Regions from separate parts of the Homo sapiens genome. Here region 1 is linked to region 2. Evidence: promoter capture Hi-C in 16 types of primary human blood cells and fetal thymus (Javierre and others, 2016). All regions are on one chromosome and are shown on one strand. Each heading gives the region's core, a stretch centred on a gene start or on the middle of the fragment in contact. The rest is flanking DNA. Distances are from core to core; before and after follow the strand shown.

Region 1 (4,881 bases), core at 976-3,475, about 11 Mb after region 2:
CTCAGTCTCCTGCGCTGTTGGGACTGGTTCCTTTCCGGGCGTCACCCGCACTGGGACAAACCCTCGCTGCCAGAGGGGTTCCAGCGCGGTGGGAGCCGGTGGCTGGGTTGTGTGAGCCGAGGAGATTCGCTCCCAACGTAGGAGAAAGGGCGTCTGGCCGCACCGTGCGGTGATGAGCCCGTGGGTTCGAGTGACGGGGCTGGAGAAACCCAGGCTGCTGCTTTGCCTGTTGCAGCACCCAAGCTGAGAGGTGACAGCGTGCTGGCAGTCCTCACAGCCCTTGCTCGCTCTCCAGGCCTCCTCTGCCTGGGCTCCCACTTTGGCGGCACTTGAGGAGCCCTTCAGCCCACCGCTGCACTGTGGGAGCCCCTTTCTGGGCTGGCCAAGGTGGGAGCCGGCTCCCTCAGCTTGCAGGGAGGTGTGGTGGGAGAGGCGTGAGCGGGAACCGGGGCTGCGCGCCGCGCTTGCGGGCCAGCTGGAGTTCCGAGTGGGCGTGGGCTTGGCGGGCCCCGCACTGGGAGCAGCAGGCCGGCCCTGCCGGCCCCGGGCAATGAGGGGCTTAGCACCCGGGCCAGCGGCTGCGGAGGGTGTGCTGGGTCCCCCAGCAGTGCCAGCCCACTGGCGCTGCGCTCGATTTCTCGCCGGGCCTTAGCTGCCTTCCCGCGGGGCAGGGCTCGGGACCTGCAGCCCGCCATGCCTGAGCCTCCCACCCACTCCGTGGGCTCCTGTGCGGCCCGAGCCTCCCCGATGAGCGCCGCTCCCTACTCCACGGTGCCTAGTCCCATCGACCACCCAAGGGCTGAGGAGTGCGGGTGCACGGCGCGGGACTGGCAGGCAGCTCCACCTGCAGCCCCGGTGCGGGATCCACTGGGCGAAGCCAGCTGGGCTCCTGAGTCTGGTGGAGACGTGGAGAACGTTTATGTCTAGCTCAGGGATTGTAACTACACCAATCGGCACTCTGTATCTAGCTCAAGGTTTGTAAACACACCAATCAGCACCCTGTGTCTAGCTCAGGGTTTGTGAATGCACCAGTCGACACTCTGTATCTAGCTACTCTGGTGGGGCCTTGGAGAACCTTTCTGTCAACACTCTGTATCTAGTTAATCTAGTGGGGACGTGGAGAACCTTTGTGTCTAGCTCAGGGATTGTAAACGCACCAATCAGCGCCCTGTCAAAACAGACTACTCGGCTCTACCAATCAGCAGGATGTGGGTGGGGCCAGATAAGAGAATAAAAGCAGGCTGCCCACCAGTAGTGGCAACCCGCTGAGGTCCCTTTCCACAGTGTGGAAGCTTTGTTTTTTCGCTCTTTGCGATAAATCTTGCTACTGCTCACTCTTTGGGACCATACGGCTTTTATGAGCCGTAACACTCACCGCGAAGGTCTGCAGTTTCACTCCTGAAGCCAGCGAGACCACGGGGAGGAACGAACAACTCCAGACGCGCCGCCTTAAGAGTTGTAACACTCACCACGAAGGTCTGCAGCTTCGCTCTTGAGCCAGCGAGACCACGAACCCACCAGAAGGAAGAAACTCTGAACACATCTGAGCATCAGAAGGAACAAACTCCAGACGTGCCACCTTAAGAGCTGTTAACACTCACCGCGAGGGTCCGCAGCTTCATTCTTGAAGTCAGTGAGACCAAGAACCCACCAATCCCGGACACAAAGCCACCACATTCTGTATCTTCTGCATTCCATATTTGGCCCTTTGTAGCTGATCACTTTCCAGATTTCACAGTTTCAAAATGATGGTTTTAATAGATACTTGAAGGTATCGGTCTTAGTAATGACCTGCTGCCTAATTGCCTGACAACCTCTTGATAGTTTAACAAATCTGTCCAAAATGAGCTCGCCTTTGTCCTATGCCAAATGTACAAAGAAAGACTAATTTTAAGGCATTAAAGGAATAACGTCAGTATTTTGATCCTTATAATTCTGGTTGTTCTGATCCTAGTTTATGGGCAGTGACTCGGGAATGTATACCTAATGTATTTTTACCTTTAGGAAAACGGAATTACTATTTTATTTGAAATATACATAATAATTACCTCAGGTAAATTAATAAATTCAGTTAAACTTCAGCTGTCTATGACCATAATAATTTTTACTCATTTGTTCCCCTTAAGCACCAACCTTTTGTGAGCACTCTAACTCAAAACCCTTTGGCAAATGTATTTCTCTGGTCCTCGATTTACTAAACAGAGTTTATGCAATGCAGTTTTATCTTTACTTGATTTTATCTTGAGATCATTAAAATGAGTTTAGATGCTGATATGAATTTTAGTAGAGTGATGTCCTGAGAGCCTATTGAGACATTTGGGACTGTTTGCTTCTATACCAATTTATTTTACACTGCTATACTTTTTTTTTGAGACGGGGTCTTGCTCTGTGGCCTAGTCTGGAGTGCAGTGGTGAGCCTGGAGTGCAGTTTTATCTTTACTTGATTTTATCTTGAGATCATTAAAATGAATATCGATGCTGATATGAATTTTAATAGAGTGATGTCCTCAGAGCCTATTGAGACATTTGGGACTGTTGCTTCTATACCAATTTATTCTACACTGCTATACTTTTTTTTGAGACGGGGTCTTGCTCTGTGGGCTAGTCTGGAGTGCAGTGGTGCGATTTTGGCTCACTGCCACCTCTGCCTCCCAGGTTCAAGCGATTCTCCTGCCTCAGCTTCTGGAGTAGCTGGGATTAACAGACGTGGGCCACCAGACACGGCTAATTTTTGTATTTTTGGTAAAGACAGGGTTTCACCAGGTGGCCAGGCTGATCTGGAACTCCTGACCTCAAGTGATCCACCCACCTCAGCCTCCCAAAGTGCTGGTGTAGAAGCAAACAGTCCCAAATGTCTCAATAGGCTCTGAGGCCCGTTGCTATACTTTTTAAGTACTTACGTCTGCTTTTTAGTTTTTCTGACAGACTGTTTTCCTCGCAGACTGTTCTGCATCATGTTTTTGAAATCTGGCAGCAACAGTTGTTTTATTGTTGTTGCTGTCACCATACTCTTTCCACCAGCTTTAATTTGGGGCTTCTTGTTTGTTATAGCTTTGATAACCCTGGATCTATGCTTAATGTAACTGTGTGTCATTACAACCTGGTAGTTCTGACTGAGAGCTAAATGTCTTTCCTACTAGTTAAGTGCATAAGCTTGAGTGCGTGGACTTCATGACATTTGGTTTTCTCAGAACTCAGAAATTCTTTTTTTTTTTTTTTTTTTTTGAGACGGAGTCTCGCTCTGTCACCCAGGCTGGAGTGCAGTGGCGCAATCTCGGCTCACTGCAAGCTCCGCCTCCCGGGTTCACGCCATTCTTCTGCCTCAGCCTCCCGAGTAGAGTAGCTGGGACTACAGGCGCCCGTCACCACGCCGGGCTAATTTTTTTTGTATTTTTAGTAGAGACGGGGTTTCACCGTGTTAGCCAGGATGGTCTCGATCTCCTGACCTCGTGATCCGCCCGCCTCGGCCTCCCAAAGTGCTGGGATTACAGGTGTGAGCCACCGTGCCCGGCCTCAGAATTCTTTTTGCTTCGTCCTGGTTTTTAGCTATTTTCCAGATAATTGCAGGATCCCTGAGTTATGTTTAAATGTGGTCTTCTGGTACATTCTGTCACCTTGTACAAAAGAGAATTTTTTTTCATACTCTTAGCTTTGATTTCATCAAAGTGATTGATGCTCATTAGGATCTGTCCAGATTTAGGTGTTCCTGCCAATAATCAATACCTCTGATTGAGGTTCTAGATTTAGCATTTTAAAAACAAAAAGGGAGTATTTTGAAAATAATAAGTATATGTCTTTAAAAACAAGTATATTCCCTAGTAAAGTGAACCTATGTACAACTAGTTGGCAGGACCTGTTCACTTTGAATATATTGCACAAACATGTCTAGGTCACCACCAACTTTTCCTCACTAACAAGGTTGATTATTATTTGCTGGTCTGGTGGAGCTGGCCTCTTGAATCCTCAGTGCTCCCCACTGACCCCCTCTATGGAGCTTTATTTAAGACAACAGGGGTTGGAAAACATTTCCTGTAAAGTCCCAGATTGTAAATATTTTAGGCTTGTTTAGGGCAAGGGGAAAAATCAAGGATATTATATAGGTGTTTAGATAACCAGAAAACAAATTCCACAAAATTTTTTAGTAATGACATTTAAAATATAATAATAAGTATAATATAGGTTTGTTAATGAAAGGGATAGAATTTGGTGGGGGAGGGGATGACATTTTCCTTAATTGCACTTCAGAGTTGGTGTTTTCTGTCATCAAACTGATAAATATTCATCTGTAAAAACCGTTTGTAGCTCACGTTACTGATCCAAGTTACAAATGATTTCAAAATTTTTTTGCAACCTTAGCCTAGTCTCTGTAAAATTTGTATTATTAGGGCATCTGTCCTTATAGGGCATATCTTTATAGAATATTTTCAGTTTATTTCTGTAACTGTTATACCACTACACTGTTCTGTCACTGAGCACACACTTCTTTCTTTTCTCTCTCTTATTTATTTATTTATTTTTTTGAGACAGACTGTCTGTTGCCCAGGCTGGAGTGCAGTGGCACAATCTCTGCTCACTGCAACCTCTGCCTCCCAGGTTCAAGTGATTCTCCTGCCTCAGCCTCCTAAGTAGCTGGGGCTACAGGCATCCACCACCACGCCTGGCTAATTTTTGTATTTTTAGTAGAGACAGGGTTTCACCATGTTGGCCAGGCTGATCTTGAACTCCTGACCTCAAGCAGTCTGCCCGGCTTTGGCCTCCCAAAGTGCTGGGATTACAGGCATGAGCCACTGCGCCTGGCCGTTGTTAAATTTTATCTAACTCATTTTGCTGATCAGTTCACTCCACTATATTGTGTATTCCTTTTAGTTTTTAAGTCACAAG
Region 2 (4,574 bases), core at 1,310-3,809:
CACCTGTAGTCCCAGCTACTTGGGAGGCTAAGGCAGGAGAATGGCGTCAACCCAGGAGGCGGAGCTTGCAGTGAGCCGAGATCGCGCCACTGCATTCCAGCCTGGGCGACAGAGCGAGACTCCGTCTCAAACAAACAAACAAAAAAAAGTGCTAACACTTGAGAAAATCTCCATATGAACCAGATATTAGACAATATTAGAGAATGATTGTTATAAGTATACAAGACGATGTCCTTATTCTTAGGAGATGCTTGCTTAAGTATTTAGAGATGAAGTTTTTTGTTTTTGTTTTGAGACAGTCTTCCTCTGTTGCCAAGGCTGGAACTGCAACCTCCACCTCCCGGGTTCAAGCGATTCTTGTGCCTCAGCCACCCTAGTAGCTGGGACTACAGGCGAACACCACCATGCCTGACTAATTTTTGTATTTTCAGTAGAGACAGGATTTCACTACGTTGGCCAGCCTGGTCTCGAACTCCTGACCTCAAGTGATCCATCTGCCTCAGCCTCCCAAAGTGCTGGGATTACAGGCATGAGACACCGTGCCCAGCCTAGAGATAAATTTTACATCTACAACTTACTTTTATACAAATGTATATATACATATACATAGGGAGAGAGAAAGCATATATGGCAAATAAATATAAGTAAAGGTTTATGAGTGTTCCTTGTTCTCTCAACTTTTCAGTTTCATTTTTTTCAAAATAAAGAATTGTGAAAAAGAGATTAAAGATAAATTGCTATTCTAAACTTATGTTACAGTTCTACCTGCACACCAATTAGTCTTTTTAAGGGTTTAAAAGTAACTTTTTTCCTAAAACTATTTTACAGCTCCACCTACACTCTTAGTCTTAAAACAAAACAAAATTCCAGTAAGAATTTCAAGGTAACAGTTTTGCGACACTGCATGTGACTTTCTAATGTTTTTCAAAATGAATTCACTAAATCTGTAGGGCATATGGACACTTTTGTAAAATCAAAGTTAGTTCAAATGGATGATTATTCATTTCTAGAAAAACTGAATCCCCAGAGTTGTTCTACTTTTCAAACAGGTGAAATAAATTATAACTGCGGGGGAAAAGGCTAACACTTTCACACACACATCCCAAATTTTAAAAGTCTTAAATTTGGCAAATACAGTTAATTCTATCATAAGGAAACGTTTGCGTGAAAGGGGGAACCCACATACTAAATGCCAAACAAAAAATGTGCTACAATGTGTTAATTATAGCTCCAAGGCTACAGGACATATTTTACAATGTAAACAGTCCCTGCAAACATCAATGCATTTATGGTTTAAAAAAATACAAACTGCACACATTTGAACCGTAGGGAATAAGTCTGAGCTAGCGTCAACAAAATCCATCTCAAAAGTTCTTATATTCTCATTTCTCTGGTAAGTTTTTGCATGTGTTAATATACTTCAGTGTATAAGAAAAGTCTAGGTCTGCAACGTTTCAACTAAAGACTCAACTTTTTACTTCCTACCGAACCGCCCCCTCGCAATGGGCCCCACCTCCCGAGAAGAGTGACGGGGTGGGGCTGTTTCCCGCTCGGAAACTAAGAAATAAATGCCTCATCCCTACTCCAGAAACGAGAACAACGGAGGCAGAGGAGCTGAAGACTCCAGTATGCAACTGACTACAAGGAGGTAGTCGTTTGAAAAGCTTTCTTTCCTTCTCTGAACTCCTTCTTTCCCTCCTCTCAGGTCATTGGGTGACCCCGGGCCGGGCGGAGACAGGTGAATCCCAAGAGAGGAGGAAGAGGGAGGGACAGATGATGGAGGGAGAACCGCGTTTAGGCAATGAATGAGCCTGCTGCATCCGCACCACCTGTTCCTTCCAAGGGTGCCACCCCGACCTGCCAGCAGGGTTCCCACACCAACCGGGCCGCGACTCCTGCCGGTGTCGCCCACTTGCCCGCCAAAGGCCGGGCCTCTTCTCCCCCAGATCGGGGAGAATGAGAACCGGCAGTCTAGAAGCCGGGAGGTCGGGGCCTAGTCCGGAACCAGGGCCTCAAGCGTGGGGATGGAATGAAGAAGCCTGTGGTCCCTGGCGCGCGGGCCATAGTAGGAACCACAGAGAGGGAGCAAAGCAATGCATTCGGCCTGACGAGAGCTATGAAGGCGGGGTCCCGGGCGGGAGTGGCTCAGTGCCCGCCGGGCCGAGGTTAGGGGTGACAGGCCCGGTTACCGGCTAAATCCTCCCCACCGCTTGCCCGGAGCCTCACACTTACCAAGATCCGCTTGAAGAGCGCATTCTCCTTGGGCGGGAGGCTCACGGCCGGCATCGTTCCGGCTGCTCCCGCTGCTCCCGCCACCACCCGGCTCGGTCAGTCAGTTTGTCCGACCGCCGCCGCTGCCGTTCCGTAGCTGCTTCAGCCTTGAATATCTCGATCCGCCGCCACCACCAGGCCTCGGGTGTCGCCGCGTTGCCCTACCCGGACACCTCCTTTTTCCTCGTTGTCTTTTTTCCTTTCTCACTTAACGCTGCCGCCGCCTCCCCCACTACGGGTCTCCGTCGGCGGTTCACGTGGTAACTGAACAGACCGACAGAGGCAGCCAAAATGGCGGACGCGGAGGGTTTTCCCACCCGGGTCACGCTTCCTAACACGCAGGCGCGGTGACCTCCTTTCCCCACCTCCTCTGGGTTTCGGAGCTTGCCGGGAAACCTGGAGGCTGGCCTGCCTGTGGAGGCCGGGAGGGTCGGGGCAGGCCCCGCCCATCATTTCAGTGCGTGGTACCCTCGAAGCGCCCGCGGAGCTACGGGAGGCTAGGCAAGTACGGTTCAGACCGCCTCCTCATCAAAAACAGCCTCTCTGGCGCCTTCCTGCTAGATCGACCTTTCATTCCTTGGAAAGAGTCTCGCACACTGTGTGATCATCGTTTGAGCCCAAAGTGCTAAAATACAGGTGTAGGTGTTTGAGAAGCGCTGTAGTTGATTATGGACGAAATGCCTAATTTAAGGAGCAGAGGCGGAGTGGAAAATGAAAAAAGCTTCACCGCAGTGGAGACTTGTTAACAGCCCTGGGGAGAAAGGGGCTTAACAGAGTCTGGAAATCGTGAAAGAGCTTGACCGATGAAATGGGCCTGGCTGTCGTATCGGTAATTTGGTGAATGTTGCTTAAGATCAGCCTGGAAAGGTAGTTAGTCAGATCCGAAGTGACATATTTGCACTGCCAAAGGAGGCTCTGGAGGTTAAAGTATGTGTTTTAATTTCGTTGTTGAGGCCATATAATGCAGAGTTGACGGACCGACCTTATGAGTCACCTTGGAGCGGAGTAGTGGAGACTTAAAGACAGACTACCCTGGAGCTGGCTTCAAACTAGTTCTTAATATTGTGACTCGAACTCCCCATCCCCAGAAATTCTCAGATCTTAGAAGCCAAAGACTGGCAAGGATACTAGAGGGAACTACTCGAGTAGGCGAGGTCAGACTACATACCGAATAGGAGTCCTTCCAAAAATGTAAGTCATTTCATTAACAGCTGACCGTAAAACTTTTTCAAAGTGGCATTCCATTGATCTAAAAATTTTCAAGTTATATGAGCCACTTTTAACCTTTGGTTTTTGATTACCTCTTTCCAAATCCTGATTTCACTCTGTAGCATTCTTTGCATCATGAATTATTAAACAATATGTGCGTGTTTTTTACTGTTTTAAATTTATTTGCAAAGATATTTTAATTTTCAAACTTCTCTTAACTGTCCCTGAAAGGTGTGAGTTGAGATACATGTTTCCCAATATAAACTTGGGTTTTGTAGCTGCTATATTGATTGTCCTCGCCCTTCACCGGGGTCATAAATAAGGTTTTTAACAGTCAAATCCTGGAGTTTCCTTAAATTCTGTGATCTCTCTTCAAAAGTTTGAGAAAAATCATATATACAGGAAACTATGTTTCAGTTTGAAATATGGCCAGTATTTTAACCTTAACTTTATAAAACTAAGAACAAGCTTATAATTCATTTTTAAGCTGTTACTTAGTAATAACCTGCAAAATTCACTGCCCCAAGAGATCTTTCAACTGTCTGAACTATTGAAAGACAGAAAAAATAGTCTAAATGCAGTTGATAGTTTTAGCTTGGATTTCCAAATCTCTGGCTTCATATCCAAATTTCTGGCTTCATATCCAAAAATCCCTACAGCAATACTATTTGCTATAGTTCTCTAAATTTCTCCTGTAAAGAATATTCTATTTTCCTTCAGAGGAAGAAAATTTCTGGTCTTTGAAACAATCAGTAGCTTCCACCAGAACCTGAGTACCTGATTAGATGAGCCAGAAATAGAGTTTGGCAAATGTTACATTCTTTTTGGGTGATGACAAAGAAATGGCAATTTTAAAGGCTCGGCAAATACTAGTCTGATTCAACATTTAACTGATTCATTTGCTAGTTAAAATGCACCTACAGATAACAGTCTGACCACACAGTAGCCTGAATTGAATAAAAAAATATATATTTACTCTGATCACCACAATTTCACAAATAGAGATCCCATTTGAGTTATACTGTAAGTAACAGCCATGCTTTCAGAAAGTTAACATATCCAAGGCTATATGCTGCCGCTGCTGCTGCTGATGA

The links. Contacts are between HindIII fragments. The CHiCAGO score rates a contact against its expected background, and 5 or more counts as called.
Region 1: a contact is called between a fragment that was not itself captured here and the fragment with the promoter of NAA15 in region 2, in 1 of 17 cell types (naive CD4 T cells). The highest score is 5.5, in naive CD4 T cells.

The regions. Positions count from the first base shown.
Region 1 is chr4:127,960,165-127,965,045 of GRCh38, reverse strand. All of the region lies in intron 1 of MFSD8 (major facilitator superfamily domain containing 8), which reads left to right. Among named protein-coding and RNA genes, the nearest start is that of MFSD8, 2.6 kb to the left of the region's middle. RefSeq lists enhancers at 1-56, 1-66 and silencers at 507-556, 567-696, 807-916. The HindIII fragment of the contact is 1,861 bases long and covers 1,295-3,155 here.
Region 2 is chr4:139,299,490-139,304,063 of GRCh38, reverse strand. NAA15 (N-alpha-acetyltransferase 15, NatA auxiliary subunit) reads right to left here and starts at 2,559. Exons shown (of 20, transcript NM_057175.5): 1 at 2,233-2,559. The coding sequence starts at 2,286. It overlaps NDUFC1 (NADH:ubiquinone oxidoreductase subunit C1), which reads left to right and starts at 1,587. Exons shown (of 6, transcript NM_001184989.2): 1 at 1,587-1,648. RefSeq lists enhancers at 2,509-2,568, 3,049-3,168. The HindIII fragment of the contact is 1,328 bases long and covers 1,667-2,994 here.